2 separate regions of the Homo sapiens genome follow, and region 1 is linked to region 2. The links are contacts of gene promoters, found by promoter capture Hi-C in blood cells and fetal thymus (Javierre and others, 2016). All regions are on one chromosome and are shown on one strand. Each heading gives the region's core, a stretch centred on a gene start or on the middle of the fragment in contact. The rest is flanking DNA. Distances are from core to core; before and after follow the strand shown.

Evidence for each region. Contacts are between HindIII fragments. The CHiCAGO score rates a contact against its expected background, and 5 or more counts as called.
Region 1: a contact is called between the fragment with the promoter of DHRS1 here and the fragment with the promoter of TSSK4 in region 2, in 17 of 17 cell types (naive CD8 T cells, naive B cells, total B cells and 14 more). The highest score is 22.1, in naive CD8 T cells.

The regions. Positions count from the first base shown.
Region 1 is chr14:24,295,900-24,301,029 of GRCh38, reverse strand. It overlaps DHRS1 (dehydrogenase/reductase 1), which reads left to right and starts at 1,250. Exons shown (of 9, transcript NM_001136050.3): 1 at 1,250-1,449; 2 at 1,900-2,073; 3 at 4,149-4,292; 4 at 4,442-4,521. The coding sequence starts at 1,924. NOP9 (NOP9 nucleolar protein) reads right to left here and starts at 1,180. Exons shown (of 10, transcript NM_174913.3): 1 at 829-1,180; 2 at 173-622. The coding sequence starts at 1,075. RefSeq lists an enhancer at 1,906-2,696. The HindIII fragment of the contact is 3,784 bases long and covers 1,109-4,892 here.
Region 2 is chr14:24,203,274-24,208,672 of GRCh38, reverse strand. TSSK4 (testis specific serine kinase 4) reads right to left here and starts at 2,977. Exons shown (of 4, transcript NM_001184739.2): 1 at 2,525-2,977; 2 at 1,950-2,164; 3 at 1,164-1,557; 4 at 425-709. The coding sequence starts at 2,749. The coding sequence ends at 527. RefSeq lists enhancers at 4,446-5,344, 5,345-5,399. The HindIII fragment of the contact is 3,453 bases long and covers 244-3,696 here.

The sequences.
Region 1 (5,130 bases), core at 1-2,500, 94 kb before region 2:
CTCCGCACACACTAATCTTTGGCTTGCTAAGCCCTGTTCAGATTAGGACAGGTCAAGCTAATTCTTCCCGGTCAAGCTCCCCCATGAAGACTTACTCTTCTGTTTACTGTCTCATTCTGAACTTTCTAAATTCTTCTTCCCCCTAGGTCCACTTTCCTCTTGTAATACTTACCAGATGATTGGGAACCACGGGGCCTGGCTCTCTCAGACTCCAGAATAGTCCCTCCTAACACCTGAAGCAGAGTTCTGACCACGAAGCTGCCATGTGTGTCTCCACAGTAGACAAGAAAATCATCACACACCTCAGCGGCTAGTCCCAGGACCAGCTCCTCCAGGGTCTCCGTGGGACCATCCTTTCCATCCTCCTCCTCCTCCTCCTCCTCCTCTGCAGCACTCCCCAGCAATCGAGGGAGCTGTAGCAAAGCACTTTGTAATACATGGACCCCGCATCGGTGACAGGCCACAGTGCGCAAGTTAGAGCGCAGAGCAGCCCACACGCGACAAAGCGGTTTCAAGGGACTGAATCCCAACAGTTCCTGCAGCATCTCACTGCCAGTCCTGTTCGTGGACAAAGCTAGGGCCTGAGTCTCTACTTCCTTCATTATATTGTGCACCATCAGATCTGAAAAGGGAAGAAAGACACACTTTGAAGAGACTTAGTAGAGAATACAGTTATGTACCCTCGCTTAACCAAGGGTCGTGGGTCGGAGGCCGAGGAAGAGGACATGGGAAATGAAACTAAGTCCCCACGCCCTGCCGACCCTAGAAAGTTTCCTTGCCTGCCCTGGATTTGATGCTCTTGGTCTAAACCCCGAAGTTGCTGCCTACCTCGTTCTTCCCCAGTCTCGGGAGCCTCTTTCAATGCTGACAGCGCCCGGCGGAAATATCCCAGAGCTTCCGGGCTCAGGTGCGGGTGCGAATCTGGAGCCGGCTCCGAGCGCCCATCCGGAGGCGGCCAGGGTTGCCGCTTACGGCCTGGTAAGGGGCGCCCCGACCCCTTGGCCCCGCGCCCCCGTTTGCCACCAGCTGGGAACCGGCGCCCCACCTTGTGTGGAGAGCGCGGACCCTGCCCCATGTGTGCTTCGCGACCTGTCCGGCTGCAAAAGCTTCCTTAACTGCGGACGGACCTTCGACGTCGCCAAGCGTGCGCCTTATCCAGACAAAGTTTAGAAACGCGGGCGCGCTCCTGACGCAGCTACTACGTCATAGTTCCGCGCCGCCCCAGCCGGGCGGGGTGGGTGTGTCACCCAGATCGCTCCGCCCCCATCCGCAGGTTCTAACTTTGGCCTGGGACTCTGCCCCTCTACCTCAGCACAGAATCGCCCCGGGTCCTACTACAGAATCAATCCTTGAACACTGCCTCCACGTCGCCGGCTCAATCTGGGCGAGAACCCAGACTTCCACCGCAGCCCCGCAATCTGCAGACCTCAGCGGCAGCGCAGGTGGCAGGTAAGCGGCGCACGCTCGTCCCACTTAGGGCTTAGGATCTCCAGGCTTCGCGCTCATCCCCGGCCCGGAAGCTGCGCCTCTGGCTCAGCCGGACTGGGTCAGGCCAGGGACCGGAGCTTCAGATAGCCCAGGACTCTGCGTGGACGCGCCCCGAGGGGCTGCCGCGCCAGATTCCCATATCCAGGCAGCCACACTCAGAGGGTTGTAGTAGTTGTCCACCTCTGGACAGTCCCACTCAGCCCCTTCTTCACTCTCTGGGCCTCCCAAAAGACAGTCAGCCTTGTCCTCAGGCCCGCACCCAGTTGTCAGCCTCTGACTCCTCTCCCCTCAAAGGATTCTTACCTTGGCTCCTCCTCTTAGCCCTAGTGAGGTTCTCCCCTACCCCCCAACCTCGCCCCAACACACACACAGTCTCCAGGCTTCCCTCAGAGTAAGTCTTTGCTTCCACAGACCTGCCTCCTTTGCCTGTGAGTCATGGCAGCTCCCATGAATGGCCAAGTGTGTGTGGTGACTGGTGCCTCCAGGGGTATTGGCCGTGGCATTGCCTTGCAGCTCTGCAAAGCAGGCGCCACAGTTTACATCACTGGCCGCCATCTGGACACCCTTCGCGTTGTTGCTCAGGAGGTGAGTGCTTCCTCTGGGACCACAGTTGCAGAAACCACCCGAGAGAGCCCTTCCACTTAACAGCTCCTTTCCTAATCCCTTACCTGAAACTATAATACTACTCAACAAGATGTGAATATTTATTCAAAGTGGAAATTAAAAACCCCGTAAATAACTTCAGGTAAGGTAGAATTTTGCCGCCAAGTGAGTTTTATGAAAAAACTTTGTGTTTGAGCCAGGCATGGTGGCACGTTCCTGCAGTCCCAGCAGCTACTCCGGAGGCTGAGGCAGGAGGATCGCTTGAGCCTAGGAGTTGAGCCATGATCACACCACTGCACTCCAGTCTAGACGACACAGCGAGACACTGTATTAAAAAAAAGAAAAGAAAGAAAAGTAAAAAACTTTTTGTTTGAGAGCAGAGATTTTGGAATTGCAACTAAAGGGTTGTGGACCTGTGCTTTCCTCTATTTCAGGCAAGACTTTATTGAACTGCACATTTTTTACTTATTTACTAGACTTCAGTTAAATAAATATTTGAGTATCCATGATTTGCTAGGCATTGGTAAACCACTGAAGTTACCAAGACTAATAAAATCTAATTTCTGCTCTTCAAAGATTCAGTCCATGGTGGAGTACAGTGGCTCATGCCTGTAGTCCCAGCACTTTGGGTGGCCAAGGCAGCAAGATCACTTGAGGCCAGCAGTTGGAGACCAGTCTGGGCAACATAGCTAGACCCAGTCTCTACAAAAAATATTTTTTAAATAATTAGCTAGGCACAGTGGCCTGCACCTGTAGTACCATCTACTTGGGAGGCTGAGGCAGGAGGATCGTTTGAGCCCAGGAGTTCGAGGTTGCAGTGAGCTATGATTGCACCACTGCACTCCAGCCTGGTGACAGTGAGACCCTGTCTCTAAAAAAAAAAATTTTAATTAAAAATGAAGATAGATTCCAACAGGAAGTCAGGTACAGAAAGCAGTCACTTCAATGTAATGTGAATATGGTAAATTATAAGAGGGAGATATGCACAGAATACTCTAGGGGTGTTGGGGAGCATCCAGATGACATAGGAGAGTGGCTAGGGAAAGTGGTTTGGGAAAGCGTCCTGGAGGAGGTAGGTGGTTCTTGAACTGAGTTTTGAAAGGTAAGAATTAGGTAAAGGAAGTTAGGAAAAGCATTCCAGCAGAGGGAGCTCCATAAGCATAGGGACGCTGTGTGAAAGAGTAGATGTGTGAGATAATGCAAGGGAAGAGTAGTGAGTGAGAGGCTGGAGAGGAAAGAGTGGGTCTTGGAAGACCCTAATAGAGAACTCAGGCTTCATCCTCTAAGAGATGGAGATCCAGTTAGGAGATTTTGAACAGGGTTTGTGTTTTAGATAGGTCGTACTGGCTGGATTATGAAGAATTAATTTAAGGCAGACAGACTGGAGGTCAGGTGAGTCGTTGGGAGGCATTGCAGTAGTTCAGGCAAGGAGGGTAATAGGCGGGGACCCAGAGCATAAATTTGGAGAATAGGAGGATTGTTCTTAGATAAAGGACTCTTCTTCCTCTGAAGTTGGAGGTTTGTGGGCATTTGTAGAGAGTGAGACAGAACAGGAAGTAGAAATCATTCATGGCTGATAGCTTTGGTTTTTTCAATTACCAACCAGGAGCATTGGTGGAGTGAGGGTAAGACAACTGGGACTGAGTAGAGGTTTTAGGTGAGTAGTGTAGGGTGGGAGCTAAGGGCATGAGAGATGGAAATGACCACAACAAGGAAAAGGATGCTTACTCATTTCTCAAGAGCAGACTCCATGCCTCACTTGTTCTTACCCTCTACTTGCAAAGTACAATGCTGTGCACATGGTGGGCCTCAGTAAATGTTTGTAGATTATTAAAACTTACATTGCAATTCACCTTGCTCTGTGGTGGGGAGGCCTATCATTCCTGAAACTACTCAAACAGACACCAGAGGGCAGCGTTGCCTGCCATGTTGCCTCTGCAGCAGGCTCTCCTAGGATTGATTGTCTTCTCAGTTCTCAAGCCCACTTTGGTTGGGGAGTTTTGTCATGACTCACACCCATGTGTGAATGTGAGCTCATATCCCCTGTCCTACTCCAGGCACAATCCCTCGGGGGCCAATGTGTGCCTGTGGTGTGCGATTCAAGCCAGGAGAGTGAAGTGCGAAGCCTGTTTGAGCAAGTGGATCGGGAACAGCAAGGGCGTCTAGATGTGCTGGTCAACAATGCTTATGCAGGGGTCCAGGTACCCTTTGAACTTTGTTCCCAACTCCACATTTCTGACCTCCCCCTCAGACCCCTGCATCTTCATCCCCACTCATTGTCCCTTCCATTACCCAGCCCCTCACACCTCCCTACCTTCAGATCATTCATCACCCTCCCTGTGCCTTCCAGACGATCCTGAACACCAGGAATAAGGCATTCTGGGAAACCCCTGCCTCCATGTGGGATGATATCAACAACGTCGGACTCAGGTGGGTGCTCCACTGCCAGGACCCATGTTCCCTCACTCACTTAGCCAACTCGACGGCCAGGCCTTTCCTTACATGCCCTCTCCTTTTCCCTCCGGCCTCCCCCATCTCTTTCTTCTCCCTTCCATTCCATTTGTCCCACTTACCTCTGGAGAAGTTCCATCCAGGTGAGTCTGTACCTGAGAATGTCAACTCTGTCAGTAATTTTCATTGGAACAAGCCCTTGGCCTCTCTCCTGTCTCACTCTCTGCCCATCCAAATGCAAGACCCAGAAGGGAGGAAGCCTCCTCCTCTCAGTAATGCGCACAGCCTGTAGTCTATACTTTCAAAATGGTTAGAGGGAGAAATTGTTTTATTTTAGACTGGGAGAAGCTTAAGAAGAAGGAGCGAACACCAATGCTGTTTAGTCTCCACATCCTCACTCCACACCCACAGGCAAGGGCACTGCCGGGTCAGAGTTGGGAGAGCAGGTACATCACTGGGTCACACAGGGTCATTTAGCCCAGGAGTGAGATGAAACACAGCATTTAGAATTCGCCTAGCATAATGCACACCAGTTATGCCTCTGTTACTGTTGGAATGATGTTACACTCTCATATAATCAAGTCATGC
Region 2 (5,399 bases), core at 1,728-4,227:
ACTCTTGACCTCAAGTGATCTGCCCGCCTCGGCCCCCCAAAGTGTTGGGATTACAGGCGTGAGCCACCGCACCCAGCTCGAATACCCATTTCTAAAAGAACTAACAGTGCCATTACTTTGGACTATAGACAGGCAGAGCCATAATCAAAGTGGAAGAACCAGGGCTTTTACCCCACTACTTGAGCATTTAAACAGCACAAAGATGTAAAATAATGAGCATATGTTGAGTTGAATAATAAAGCTTCCCAAAATAGAGCGTTAATCTGAGCACCCCATCCCCTAAGAGCCACATCATGAATTACACTATTGATTTAACACAGTGTCAAGATTATTGGTTACAGGCTCTGGGCAGAAATCTATCTCTTACTCCAGCAGTGTTCCCTGCTATAAGATTGCCTTGAGAAAAGAATGTCTTTGACCCTAGTTGATGAAACTAAATCAGACTTAGATTTATTTTTGGTAAAAAAGATTTTTAGCCCAAGACCTCCTGCTTTGCTCCTCTCTTAGCCCCCTCCCTCAGCCATTTTCAGGTCGTAATTTGCAAGGATTGGTGCTGTTTAGTGGTGTTGTGGAGCTGGCACATGGCCTCAAGCAGCCTGATCTCATGGGTGGGTTGCTCAGGCTGGAACTTGAGCACCCAGGAATCCTTGATGATGTCCAGAATGGTGGCACGCTTAGTGGCTTGGCGTAGCATCTGGAGGATCAGGTTCTAGAGCAGGGGAGAGAGAGGTCTTGCCTGAGTTTTTCTCCATTGTGCCACACAGGCAATGAGCAGTTGGACCTAAGAAAGAAGCAGGATAGCCCATCATACCACTCTGGTCAAAGTGGGTGTGGCTCTGATTTTATCTTGGAGACCCAGGCAGTTAACTCCCTGGAGGGGAAGGGAAGAGTTCCTTGGGAGGAATGCTTTCCATATTTCCCTTCTGGCCTAAAGAGAAAGAAGCTGGAACCTGTGTATCAGGCAAGGTTTGGAGCCTAGTGGTTGGCCCTTTATGCCTTCCATACTGTTTATTATAGGACAGGAGCTAGTGTGTGAGATGGCTCTGGTGTGGGAAGAGCCTTTCCCCAGGGTTGGGAGGCCTAGGTTGGGTGACCTAGGTTGGATATTCACCCCTCCCTGTGGGTCATCCCTGAAGGCTCAGCCCTCCTTAGGTAGCCAGTACCTTGCACTCCTGGGAGATGGTATGGTTAGCTGGGAAAGTGACCTCCTTCTGAGTCTCTCTTAGCAGCTTTTTGAGATTGGTGTCATCAAAGGGCAGATGGGCGACCACTAGAGTGTAAAGGATGACGCCCATGCTCCAGGTGTCAGACAGGAAAGGGTTGTAGGGCAAGCCTCGTAAGATCTCTGGGCAAGCGTAAGCAAAGCTGCCACAGTAAGTCTGGCTGAGGTGGGAAAAGCAGTTCACTTGGCGGTAAGAAGGGCTACAACCCACAGGCTGGTTAGAAGGCACCATCTTGGCAAAGCCAAAGTCTGATATCTTCACATTCTCCCACTTGTCCAGCAACAGGTTCTCCAACTTTAAGTCCCTACCAGCAGCAGAAAGGCTGGGCATCAGGCTGGGGAGAGGGCTTAGTTTTAGACTGGGAGCTGAAGGGCCAGGGGTCAGAGGGTAAAGATGAGGACAGAGGAAGTGGGAGGTAGAAACCATTATGAGGGCACAAGGTAGAGAGGAAGGAAAGCCATGGAGTTGTGAGCAGAGCCCAAAGTAGGGAGAGAGACAGAGGATGGTATCTGAGGACCACCGGGAGCTCACCATTGTATTTCATAAAATGCTTTGCATACAGTGAGTACTTTATCAGTATCCTTGACCATATGATTAAAATAGAGTGCATGAATAGGCTAGATATTGAGGAGGGAGTTCGAAAGAGGAAAAAAGGACAGGAAATGGGAGATGTGCATAAAACCCCCTTGAGGGCAAAGGCCCCAGTCTGGGTGGCAGCGCCCTCACCGGTGCACGATGCTCTTGCTGTGCAGGTAGGCAATGCCCAGGGTCAGCTGGGAGAACCACTTGCCAGCAAGGGGCTCAGAGCAGGCCCCGTAGCGCTGGATCCATTCAAGGACATCACCACCCTGAGCCAGTTCCAGAATGATGTATACTCGAGATGTGCTCTCAATGGCCCGATAGAAGTTGATGAGGTACTTGTGCCGCAAGACTTTCATTACCTGACCCCAGAAGAAGGACCCATCAAACCTGGGAAGGGAGAACCCTGACTGCACTCCCAGCCGTCTCCTACCCTCAGCTACTGACTTAGGACTTTGCAATAGGATCAGCCCCTCAACCCCAGAGAACTGGTGGCCTGTGGGCAAATGCTATGTTTTGTGCCTTTACTTTTTGGGGACTGAAGGTGAGTGGGTGGATGGGAAAGAGGTTTAACTTACATAAAGTTTCCTAGCTGCTTAGTGAGACATTTCAGTTCTGGTTTAGGGGTTTCTGGCCCCACCCCTCCTGGCCATACCCCTTCTGAGAAACCTCAAGCAGCTTAGTACCAAGCTCCAGTTCCCTCTTCCAGCCCCCTTTCCAACCTGTATTTCACGGGGCAGGAACTTGTTAAGATAGTCATCAGAGGCCTTCTTCTTTGAGATGATCTTGACTGCCACCATAACCTTCTGCTTTGTGTAGAAAGCCTCATATACCGACCCATAGGAGCCATGGCCAATGGCCTTGCCCACCTCATAACCATATTCATCCATGAGGGAATGGTAGGCTGTGGTGGTTGGTGCTGCCTCTAAGACATCTCCCTTCCCCATGGTGTTGGGCTTGCTGAGAGCAGGGAGCTTTACTACTTGGAAGCCTCCTATCCAAAGGCCAACACCTTGAGCTGCTGAAGGCTAGGGTATCAAAGTGAAGTAGGTCCCCAAATGCTTGCCTATATAGTCACACGAGTCTGGGATGCTGGACTCAGCCCTCCACTAGGAACTTGGAGGGGGAAAGAAAGAGAAGCAGTTCTTTTTGTCTCCACTGGCTGTTGTTACTTTCTCCTTTTGGTTACGGAACTCCTCAAGGTCCCATGTTCCGAATACATCACAATCCACCTCCTATCCATCGTTGGCCACAAAACTTGAGAATGAAGTGCGGCCGGGCGCGGTGGCTCACGCCTGTAATCCCAGCACTTTGGGAGGCCGAGGCGGGCGGATCACGAGGTCAGGAGATCGAGACCATCCCGGCTAAAACGGTGAAACCCCGTCTCTACTAAAAATACAAAAAATTAGCCGGGCGTAGTGGCGGGCGCCTGTAGTCCCAGCTACTTGGGAGGCTGAGGCAGGAGAATGGCGTGAACCTGGGAGGCAGAGCTTGCAGTGAGCCGAGATTGCGCCACTGCACTCCAGCCTGGGCGACAGAGCGAGACTCCGTCTCAAAAAAAAAAAAAAAAAAAAAGAGAATGAAGTGCAGTTGGAAACGTACTCATTCCCAGAGGCACCTTCCACAGTCTGGTGAAACTCCTAAAGATCAGACCTTTCATTGATATATGAGTACCTACTAAGTACCAGACACTGTGCTGAATACTTGGATAAAATGTCACCCAAATGTCATGCCAGACCCTTCCTCCTTCCTCAATCCCTACATACAATCTTTCATCAAATCCTGTCTCTGCTATCTCCTACTTATCTCTTTAATGATACACTCAAGGCTTTCCGAGCCCATTGCAGCCCCCTTAGTTCAATAAGGCCAATAGAGACACTATGATCCTAAAGCTTATAATGCAGCATGAGAAATACGAGTGTGAAAGTATTACCATTGTAAGGTATTGAACATGTTCTAGGAAAATCTAACCTTGAAATGCATCCTTATCTTCTATGAGCCAGAACTCTCTAGTTTTCCTCCACATCCTTCTGGTCACTCCTCAGCCTTCACTGAAGTTATATCTTTCTCTATCCATCCCTTAATCATATCCCAAGTGTTACATCACAAGCTTTATTTTCTCAAACCTTCACATCCTCCCTTAATCTTGTCCATACCCATGGTGTCAATACTACATTTATGCTGACTGCTCCTAATTTCATCTCCATCCCATATATCTGGAGTTTAGATAGAGCAGCCAGTATTACGTGGCCATGTCTGCCCCAGGCATGGAACTTACCATATCCATCTCAAACTTAACCATATCAATAATTGAACTTATTTTCTTCTCTCAGACTTTTCTGTGAGTTGTACACTAATCACCCTTAATTTAGACACTCATATGTCATCCCAGACCCTCCTGCCTCAGTCCCTACATTCAATCTATCACGAAATCCTATCTCTTATACCTCCTGATTCTCTCTTTGATAATATTCTCATGGTTTTCTGAGCCCACTGCTAATCCCTTAGTTCACGCCTCCATCATCGAACAGATGGCCCCCGCCAGCCTTCTGCTCCACTCCAGTCTGTCCATCCCAAGTCCAAAGCATAAATCTGATTTTATTTCCATTTGAAACAATTCAGTGTCTCCCCATTCTCTTTAGGATCAAGTCCATCCAAATTCTTTCACACAGCTTTAAGTCTGATCCTGCTTACCTCCCCAATTTTATTTTTTAACACACACGTAATGATCCACAACTGCTTTTCTGTATTTGTGGCAAACTCCAAATCTTCCTTGAGAACTTGGCATAGGACCTTTTTTCTCTTTTTTTTTTTTTGAGATGGAGTTTCGCTCTTGTTGCCCAGGCTGGAGTGCAATGGCACGATCTTGGCTCACTACAACCTCCAACTCCTGGGTTCAAGCGATTCTCCTGCCTCACCCTCCCTAGTAGCTAGGATTACAGACATGCACCACCATGCCTAGCTATTTTGTATGTTTAGTAGAGACAGGGTTTCTCCATGTTGGTCAGGCAGGTCTTGAACTCCCGACCTCAGGTGATCTGCCCACCTTGGCCTCCCAAAGTGCTGGGATTATAGGCATGAGCCACCGCGCCCCGTCTGTTTTTGTTTTGAGATGGAGTTTCGCTCTTGTTGCCCAGGCTGGAGTGCAATGGCACAATCTCGGCTCACCGCAACCTCCACCTCCCGGGTTCAAGCCATTCTCCCGCCTCAGCCTCCCGAGTAGCTGGGATTACAGGCATGCACCACCACGCCTGGCTAATTTTGTATTTTTTAGTAGAGACGGGGTTTCTCCATGTTGGTCAGGCTGGTCTCGAACTCCCAACCTCAGGTGATCTGCCTGCCTCAGCCTCCCAAAGTGCTGGGATTATAGCCGTGAGCCACCGCGCCCAGTGGAGCTGTTTTAAAGAAGGCTTAACTGACTGCTCAAGCTTCAGTTAGATATTCCTTCTTCCTGGGTGCTCCCACAGGCCCAATACTTTGTCTGTCACAGCACCTAACATAGTGTCTGTAATTGCTTCTGTTGCTTGCATCTCCCACTAAGCTATATAGGGAGGTCAAATGATGAGAAGACAGATGAAGTGTGGAGAATAGAAAAGA